2 separate regions of the Homo sapiens genome follow, and region 1 is linked to region 2. Evidence: promoter capture Hi-C in 16 types of primary human blood cells and fetal thymus (Javierre and others, 2016). All regions are on one chromosome and are shown on one strand. Each heading gives the region's core, a stretch centred on a gene start or on the middle of the fragment in contact. The rest is flanking DNA. Distances are from core to core; before and after follow the strand shown. Region 1 holds the start of LOC124904002 (a long non-coding RNA gene). Region 2 holds the start of KRTAP17-1 (keratin associated protein 17-1).

Region 1 (4,868 bases), core at 1,215-3,714, 210 kb after region 2:
GTTGAAGGGGAGAGAAAACAGCGAGTAAACAGTTGAACTTTGGGTTAAAAAAATTAAAATCTCTTATAATTTAATAAGAGTAAATCAATCCCTTAAGAAAATTTCATCGCTCTAACTATTTTGTTTATCATTGCTTTTTTTTTTTTACATGAAGCCCAATCTTCAGGAAGACTATTATAATTTCCTTTTAATTACAGACAACTTGACCATATAAAAGTTTGTTGGTTTTTTTTTTAATCCTCTTATTATGACTTTTACAGACTGTTCATGATATGCTTGGACTTTCTGGTTTGTTTTGAACATCCATCTTTCTTAAACAATCATTTTATTTTAGGTCTAAATTTACCATACAAGATCTTTTCTCATATGAAATTATTTCTCTTTAAGCTTCCTTACCAAAAAGAACCCTCTTTATCCTCTTTATTTTTATACCTTTCTTTACATCTCTCTGATTTCCTGGTTCCTTTTAACTTGTCTTATACATAATCTTTAAATAAGCATTGAATTAGATGACAATTGTTCACCTTTTTAAAAAGGAATTGTTTACCTAGATTATTTATGAAAACTGCAATAGTCATCATTTAAAGTTATGGAACTGCCATTGCAAAATTATAACTGAGACAGTGAAAAAGATCTGACCTAATTGACTCCATCTTGCTTCTAACCTCCAAACTGTTCTTGTTCAATCCTGGGCACAGGCTGAACAGACGTTGAGAGGAACATAGTTTATAGTTTACCTTTGAAACAAAGATTATAACAGTTCATTCTCAAACTAAATCTTACTGCCTGTGGACTAGACCACCAAAACCACAAAATTAGAAGTTACAGTAATCTCACTAAATTCAAGATGTGACTATTTTTATTAAACCAATATCAATGTCTTATTTATTAAAGATTATACAAGCAAAGATCATTCTATTACAGTTTTGTAACTCCATGGCAAATTTTGACACCTTATGGTATTTGACAGGGATAAGCATGAAATTGCTTGATTAATAAATGCAAACAAAAATGCATGCTGGCAATTTTTAAGACATGTCTAATATTACTTTACCAATAATTTTAAAGCTAGCTTATTTATTAAAGATTTTACTTGTTACATAAACTTCAGAAAGCATTCAACTAGTCTTTTCTTTTTTCCTGATAAAGTATTAGATTCAAGTGCTTTTTATCTTAAGCCAATTAATTAGAACTCTTTTATATATTTTCAGTAGCGAGAAATTGTGTACACATCACATAAATATATAGACATAGTAGGCATGCTGATAGAAGTACATCGTATAGATACTTAAGGAGCTTTTTTCCCCTATCTTAGGCTTTCAAATTCTTAATAACCTGTTTTACTCCCCTAGGGAGTTGTCAGCTAAATAGCCTTAAGTTTGCATGTTAAAGGAAACAACTCAGGCAAAAATCAAATAGCAAAATTATATCATAAGGTACAGAGAGAAAAAGTCTGGTGGTGCTAGAGGGAAGTCAAAATGGATTTAATTGCCAATTAAACATAAAATTATAAAAATTATAAAGGCCTTTTAAATAGATACACACACACACACACACACACACACAAACACACACACAGAAATCCTATAGCTTTTACTTCAGAACTTTAGCCATGAGACAAATACAAATTCACCAGGTTGCAAACAAAAAGCCTGTTGTATCCAAACAGTGGTTTTGATCTTAATAGAAAAATAACAGCAGATTTAAAGCAGGCAGAAAAGAAAATAGAGAAAAAAGAGAACTTAGGAACTCTGTAGTTTGTAGGTTGACCTTAAGGCTCTTCTTTTCTTTCTTTTTCTTTTCTTTCTTTCTTTCTTTCTTTCTTTCTTTCTTTCTTTCTTTCTTTCTTTCTTTCTTTCTTGCTTGCTTGCTTTCTTGCTTGCTTGCTTTCTTTCCTTCTTTTCTTTCTCTTCTAAAAAAAAATGAAATACACATGCAGGAGAACGTGCAGGTTTGTTACATAGGTATATGTGTGCCTTGGTGGTTTGCTGCACCTATTGACCCATCCTCTAAATTCCCTCCTCTCATTCCCCACCCCCCAACAGCCCCTGATATGTGTTGCTCTCCTCTCTGTGTCCATGTGTTCTCAAAGTTCAACTCCCATATATGAGTGAGAACATGTTGTATTTGGTATTCTGTTTCTGTGTTAGTTTGCTGAGGATGATGGTTTCCAGCTTCATCCATGTCCCTACAAAGGACATGATCTCACTCCGTTTTATGGCTGCATCGTATTCCATGGTGTATATGTACCACATTTTCTTTATCAAGTCTATAATTGATGGGCGTTTGGGTTAGTTCCATGTCTTTGCTCTTGTAAATAGTGCTGCAATAAACATACATGTGCCTGTGTCTTTATAGTAGAATGATTTGTATTCCTTTGGGTATATAACAAGTAATGGGATTGCTGGATCAAATGGTATTTCTGATTCTAGATCCTTGAGGAATCACCATACTGTCTTCCACAATGGTTGAACTAATTTACATGGGCCCTTTCTTTCTTAATGTAAATATGCACAAAGACCATATTACTTCCATTTTACTTAAACTCTGGCAAGTACAGGTGCCATAAAACCTATGGAGTGCTTGAAAGGGAATCATTCTCTTTGCTTTCTCCTCATTCTTAGATTATTTGTTTCCCAGTTTTCTTCTTAAAAAGAGGAACTGAGCTGAGGCCTAGAGGTTTTCTGTGGTGGATCAATATGTGCCATTTGTGGGCAGGACTCCACAGTGGGTCACCACTGAAAACAACAGTTCAGTTCCTCATGCAAATGCACACAGACAAGCTGAATTGAGCTTAATTTGGGGAGAAAAAGCAACAGAGAAGATCCTTTAGAATGCATTTGTGAACTAGAATTAGGATCTTTAAACGACAAATTCCTAGAAGGAAAACAAAACAACAGCCAAGACCACTTTTTGTAAACCTTGCTCAGCCACCCCTTAACTTTGTAGCTCTCATCTACCACTATACACAACAAGGTCAAAGCCAAAGAGGTCAGGTCATGCAATACAGGAAAATAGAGGTTTAGAGTTAAGAAGAATCTACCCATGACTCTTGAAACTCCACAAAGAAAACAAAACACCCCAAAAGGGGTGAGTGGCAACCTTTGTTCTGAATTCTTTAAGGGGGTTCAAGTCATTAGAAGCCTTCTCTAGACTTTTTGGTACTGCATATGGCAAAGGGGGAGGAGGTATATGGTGCAAGAAAAGTAAACGAAAGAACATTCGTGTTTTAAGACAGGAAGCAAACACAGAAACCAAGTGCATGGGTTTTTGGTTCTTTTTGTTTGTTTTCTTCTTTTGCAGCTGCAATGAATTTTAGCCAAATTAGAGAGGTTTTGTTACCCGTAATTTTGAATTCTCACTTGGATTTGACCAAGTCAGGTAGAGTTGGTCAAGTCTGATGGGAGAAAGACCAAAACAAACAACAAAATCTCCAACCATAGGATTACCAAGCACTCTAATGATAAGGAGAAATTAAGAGCAGCTAGCTGGTTGTTAAACTTTAGCCCAGACAAAGCCCCAGTTCAGCTACTTACCTAGGGATGGGTCTCAGGCTGAAGGCTGCTTTCTACCACCCTAGAAGCAGGAAAAAAACTCAAACTGGTCTTCCCTGCTGGGAGTGAGCTCAAACTCTACATGCCTTTCATCATCATGGAAGCAGGAAATCTTGCCTTCCTTGTAAAGGAAGTAAAAGTAAATCTTGCCTTCCTTATAAGGAAGGCAAGTAAGCAAGTAAAACTCCAAAAACAAAAATAGGTGGGGCAGTTGTACAGCAAAATGAACTTTAGTTCTTCACCAAATTTGGGGAGATCAGGGATTCTTTGGGGAGGGTGCTCCCAGACCTCAGCAAATTGTCCTATTGATTTGAGCCATAAAGTTAGCTCATGCTATTACCAGGCACCAACAGGATATTCGTCAAAGGTCAAGGGCATCTCCACTCAGAATCCTTTCACAGTTACCAAAATGTTAACCCAGAAAATCTGAGACAGGTCTCAGTTAATTGAGAAAGTTTATTTTGCTAAGGTTGAGGATGCTCCGGTGACACAGCCTCAGGAAGTCCTGATGACATGTGTGTAAGGTGGTCAGATAACACTTTTGTTTTATACATTTTAGGGAGACATGAGATATCAATCAACATATGTAAGATGAACACGGATTTGGTCCAGAAAAGGCAAGACAACTCGAAGCAAAGGCGGGACAACTCGAAGCTGGGAGGGGGCTTCCAGATCATAGGTATATAAGAGACAAATGGTTGCCTTCTTTTGAGTTTCTGATTAGCCTTTCCCAAGGAGGCAATCAGTGCATTTATCTCAGTGAGCAGAGGGGTGACTTTGAATAGAATGAGAGGCAAGTTTGTCCTAAGCAGTTCCGAGTTTGCCTTTTCCCTTTAGCTTAGTGATTTGGGGGCCCCAATATTTATTTTACTTTCACAGCCTCCTAACCTTATTTATCCTGCCTCATGTTTAAGAAGGCATCATAACTCTATGACTGAGATCTGGACAACATTTTTCTTAAGGCATCTGAAAAAATATGAAGCTTATTTTTCATATTTGAACATATCTGAACAAATCATCTTAAACTTGATTGGCTCAATAGCTTAAGGCCATTTCAGAGCTGATAATAGTCAAATAAAAGTAAAAACATCAAGAGCAGGTGCTCCTACTAGAATGCCAAGTTATAGTCACTTACCATATTCTTTCAGATTCAAATGAAGGCACCTCTCTTGGAAATTCTAATTAGGATATGCACCCCAGCTGCGACCTACTCAAGACTGAACTAATTCCAATAAAATAATTCTTAAAAAGAAAAGCGAGCCTTGAAATTTTCATCCTTTCTGGGTTTATATATATTAAAATGTTAAGTGTGGA
Region 2 (5,100 bases), core at 1,965-4,464:
AGTATCCATAAAGATATATACATATATAAATATATAATAACATATATTAGTTACAAATTTCAAAATTCATGTTCTAAGATATGTTAAAAATATATAACTTTATTTTCCTCTGAGACTGTTTAAACTTATTTCAAACCCTCATTCCACCTTATGGGGGAAAAAAATAAAAGTCAGTTCTATGTAAACACAGAAATCATTCAGGATTTCTCCCTCCCAACCTTCATCTGGAGGAGGTGTCTGAGCTTTGAGGGGTGTTATGTTTGAATCAAATGGAAATTTCATAGCCTTCAAGAGGCTGGCAACAGGTTCATGGTGGGAATTTGCTGAAATATACATGGTTCTCTCTTACTCTTGGCCCTATCATCCCTCTCATGGCATCAACCAAGATATTAGAGTTCTTTTAGTCCACAAAAGAACTACATCCTCTACGTCTACATCCTCTCATTACCCCATCCAGGCGGCTAGATGGACCTGGTCATCTGACCACCCACTCTCCTGCATTGCAAAAGTCTACTTTGAATTGTATAAGCTAAGCATTGACCTAAGTCATTCTCTCTGCATTTCTACAGTAATAACCCTACCCTGGGGGCAGTAAATATAAAAAGTCCCTACTGCTGCCCAATTTGTGTGGAAAGACCAACAGTGAAATAAATTGCAGAAGAAAAATAACACCACCATGAGGACTTCAAGTCCTCATCATGACATGTACATTTACACAATTGAAATCATAGTGTATAATTTGAGTTGCACACTGAATGTTGTACTTAATCTGAGTAAATGCTCATGAGTATATGAATTGTTAAATATAAAAGTATGATAATTTATATTTTCAAGTTGTTCAAACAACCAAGTGTTCAATATGTATACATTTATATTTACTCATTTAATCAAAACAGCTCTACGACACTGCTACTATTATTATCCTAATTTCTGTTTTATAGATGAAGAAATTCAGGTACACAGGGGTTAAGTAATTATGGGAGCAGCGAGGGGGTGGGTGAGAGGCAGGAGAACTGAATGGTGAGACATTGGAAGATGAGGAAGACTTTCTACTCTTTTGTACCTTTTATCCTGGGAATGCTTGACCTCTTATTAAAATAAATAAATATGTAAAAGGATGTGTCGGCCGGGTGCAGTGGCTCACGCCTGTAATCCCAGCACTTCGGGAGGCCGAGGCGGGCAGATCACTTGAGGTCAGGAGATCCAGACCAGCCTGTGCGACATGGCGAAACCCTGTCTCTACTAAAAATACAGCAATTAGCTGGGCTTGTTGGTGCGTGCCTGTAATCCCAGGTACTTGGGAGGCTAAGTCAGGAGCATCGTTTGAGCCCAGGAGGCGGAAGTTGCCATGAGCCAAGATCAAGCTACTGCGCTCCAGCCTGGGCAGCAGAGTGAGACTCCATCTCAAAAAAACAAACAAACAAACAAAAAAGGACACGTCTGCCATAGACATTGCTGTATTATACTCACTCAGAGGTGCCCATCTGTGGATGTGGTATGGTGGAAGAAACAGTGGACCAGGAGGGAGAACATCTGGGCCATGGGTCCAATCTACCACGGATGTGTCATCTCTGGGCCTTGGTATCATCTTCTGTAAAACACAAGTGCTTGGCAGTGATGGTCATGATAGGATTAGATTATATCAGTGTTTCCTAATGTAACCCAAGTTACCTGAGAAAGTTTAAAATATATAGCTTCTCAAGCTCTCATAAGCACACATTCTGATTTATCATAAGGACTGGAATACAGTTTGGGAATCTGTATTTTTCAAAAGGCCCCCTTTTAGGCAATTCTGATATAAAACCCTGGACCAGATGATGTTTCAGGGGTTCCTCCCAGCTCTAAAATTCCATATCCTGTGAAGTATTGAGTATCATATCAGATCCAAGTAACTCATTCATCATTTACCCTCCCGACTCCCACCCTGTCCTTAGTTCTTCTAGCCCTTCTTAGAGGCTGTCTTACTTCTAGCCCATCTTACAAAGAAAGGGAAATGAAAAGGGAAGGACTAGATCCCTTGATCCAGATCCTTACTCCCATCCCTCCTTCCATTCCCACCCCACCCCTATCTTCTGTCCTCTACCCCTACTAGATGTTGTATTCCAGCTCCAGGGCTGCCATGGGCACTCCAAGAGGAGAACAAGGTACCAAAGTCCAAGAAAGAGACAGAAATTTTGACCCATCTCAAAATTTACACATGGACCTGAACCATCTGTAGATTTTAGACTCCTTGCAAAGGCATTTTATTCCTTGGGATGACACTCTGGGTATTTTGTATTCTAATTTCTCCTTCTGCCAGATGGTCTATAAGGTTCGAACTCTTAAAAAAAGTGCGTTACATTCCCATTTTAATGTAGCATTTTGGATATTTACTGATCTCCTTCCTGCTTTCTTCTTTCTTTTCTTCTTTCCTTTCTTCCTCCCCTTCTCCTCTTCTTCCTCCTCCTGCATCTCTTCCTTCCCCGGTCAAGGAAAGGCCTGGGGCTGGAGTGGGGGTGGGTAGAGGGTTCTGATCTCAGTTCTTCCCACCTATTTAGAGAGAAGTGCGAATATTCAGCTCACCTTGCCGCCGAGACAGACCATGCCTTACCAGCTTCTTGCAGCTTTACGATGAGTCTCTCTCGGTTTCACAGGGCAGTTATTACTCATGACTGATGCTCACCGGCCAAGCCTAAACGTGTGGCACACTCCCCATACCACACACAGACACAAACATTTGCCTGGCTCACATGAACCGGGATGAGGATGCCATTTCCACCTGGGAGGAGCCACGTGACCAGGCGTTCTCAGTAGCCTCCACTGGTGTCAGGGGGAACAGAGCATTCGGCTGTTGCCGGTCTGCCTTTCCAGGACTAGCATCCATGGAAGATGGGGTCCATCGCCAACCTGCGAAGATGTGGAAGGCAAGCCCCTCATTCCAGAGCCAGAAGCTGTGGCCGGCTTCCCCTTCCCATCTCCAACCTGGGCTAATGACAGCTGGCAGATGCTTGGCCATGATGACAGGTCTTTTCGAAGATGTATTTTTACCCTCTGGATAAACAGCAGTTGGCAGGAGTGGGGCGTTTTTATGAGTTGAGGTACTCAGGACTGGAAAATAAACAGCCAGTTAATGAGCCGGTCTTATGGAAACTTGCATAAATAATAACAAAGAAAACATCCCGTCCCTCATGCCTGGGTGAGGGGATATAAAAGCTGCCATCCAGATGGCTGGCCACCGTCAGTCGTGGGGAACTCCGGCTGCGTTACCGACCTGCGAGCTGACGGGCCCGGACCATGGGGTGCTGCCCGGGGGACTGCTTCACCTGCTGCACCCAGGAGCAAAACTGCTGTGAAGAGTGCTGCTGTCAGCCGGGCTGCTGTGGCTGCTGCGGCTCCTGCTGTGGCTGTGGGGGCTCTGGCTGCGGGGGCTCTGGCTGCGGGGGCAGCTGCTGCGGATCGTCTTGCTGTGGATCTGGCTGCGGAGGCTGTGGAGGCTGCGGAGGCTGCGGGGGTGGCTGCTGTGGATCCAGTTGCTGTGGGTCCAGTTGCTGCGGCTCCGGGTGCTGTGGGCCTGTGTGCTGCCAGCCCACACCTATATGCGACACAAAATGAAGACCTTTCCCTCCACCACTGATGCAGTCCCACCGAAAGCCTCCATCTGCTCCAGGGGGACAGCCCCTCGTGTCCAGAACCTTCCATACCCCCAAGACAGTGTCTTGTCTTTCTGTGATTTGTAGAGGAGGGCTTGTTCTCCAACACCTTCTCTGGTATTTCAAGGCACCGAGAACAAGAGCCATACTCTGATGAAACATTAAAACTCGGTCACAACTAAGTGATCCCAAGCTCAAGGGTGAATCCCCAATACTTTACTTATTCACATGAAGTTCAATGTCTTGTACTATAAGACATCCTCTTCTTCAAGGTGTCTTTGGGACTGATCCTCCGCCCTGGCTTTCTGCAGCTTTGAGATGCAAAAAAGGTCCATCTTCTTTGTGAGCCTCTTAATAAATTTGAGCATGCTGGCATAACCTAATTAGTTCTCTTGCCTCTTCCTTGACCTCCCTGCTGAGGACTGGGTTAGAAAAATTCACTCTGGCATCTGCCTTAGGGTTTTTGAATTGTGGTTTTTGGATCACCTGCGTCGGAATCACCTGGGAGCTTGTTAAAACTGGAGACTCTGAGGCCCTCCCTAAGACATACAGAATCAGAATCCACCAAAGTGTGGCCTGGGAATCTGTGTTTTTAACAAGAACCTTAGATAATTCTTATGCACTGAAGTTTGAGAACCATAGATCTAGACGGAAGCTTCCGTGTGCTGCATGAGATTCACTTGAAAAGCTTTTAAAAATATAGATCATTGGGTTTTATCACTGGAGATTTTACCCGTTAGCTCTAGGGCCTAGAGTCCCTAGGGACCTGCATTTTTAAAAGCTCCTGGGTGAATGCTGATGCTGGCCACATTTAATGGTGATTGAGGGGCATGGCTTTCTTCTGCACTACAGCTCTCCTAGGATGGTTCTGCAGGAGGGCTTCAGGCTTGATCAGAACTTTCTGGCAAAGTCGGAAAGGAGGCTTTGGTAAAACAAGATTGGTTCTGAATGGAAAGGATTTCTAATGGCAAAGCTAGTGAATTCACAGTTTCTGAGGATGTTCTGCGCAGTACAGTTCCTTCTTCCAGCCTCATGCTTGGTCCAGTCTCACTTTTCTGTGCTAGGTTGTCTTACCTGGAACCAGCTACGTTTCTTCTGCCTGAGTTCTAAGGAGGAGGGAGTGAGTATACCTCTGCTAGGTAGGGCCCAGCCAAGGTGTGTGGGTCCACCTGGGAGGTTAAAACTCAAAAGACAGTTGATCAACCTTTTGTTGAAAGTGACCTTAAGCTGTGTGTGTAATAAAACTAATTTTGCTCTTGCCCTGGAAAAATAGTATTTATTTTTATGCCTACAAAGCGATGTTTCATTTGACAAAGAAAAATTTTTTTCTGATTATAAGCATAGCAATGAACTCTAAAAAATGAAAAAATACAGAAACATATAAAGAATATAGCATTCGAAGGCTCACCACTCAGAGTCTATTACTGATAAGCTTTCCAGACTGTTTTCTAAGCATAGTTATGAATAAAAC

Evidence for each region. The method cuts DNA at HindIII sites, captures the fragments that hold promoters and counts their contacts. A CHiCAGO score of 5 or more calls a contact.
Region 1: a contact is called between a fragment that was not itself captured here and the fragment with the promoter of KRTAP17-1 in region 2, in 3 of 17 cell types (non-activated CD4 T cells, total CD4 T cells and naive B cells). The highest score is 5.7, in non-activated CD4 T cells.

What each region holds. Positions count from the first base shown.
Region 1 is chr17:41,107,048-41,111,915 of GRCh38, reverse strand. LOC124904002 (a long non-coding RNA gene) reads right to left here and starts at 3,684. Exons shown (of 2, transcript XR_007065754.1): 1 at 3,537-3,684; 2 at 1-1,912. The HindIII fragment of the contact is 4,149 bases long and covers 390-4,538 here.
Region 2 is chr17:41,313,824-41,318,923 of GRCh38, reverse strand. KRTAP17-1 (keratin associated protein 17-1) reads left to right here and starts at 3,214. Exons shown (of 1, transcript NM_031964.2): 1 at 3,214-4,012. The coding sequence starts at 3,274. The coding sequence ends at 3,591. The HindIII fragment of the contact is 4,540 bases long and covers 1-4,286 here.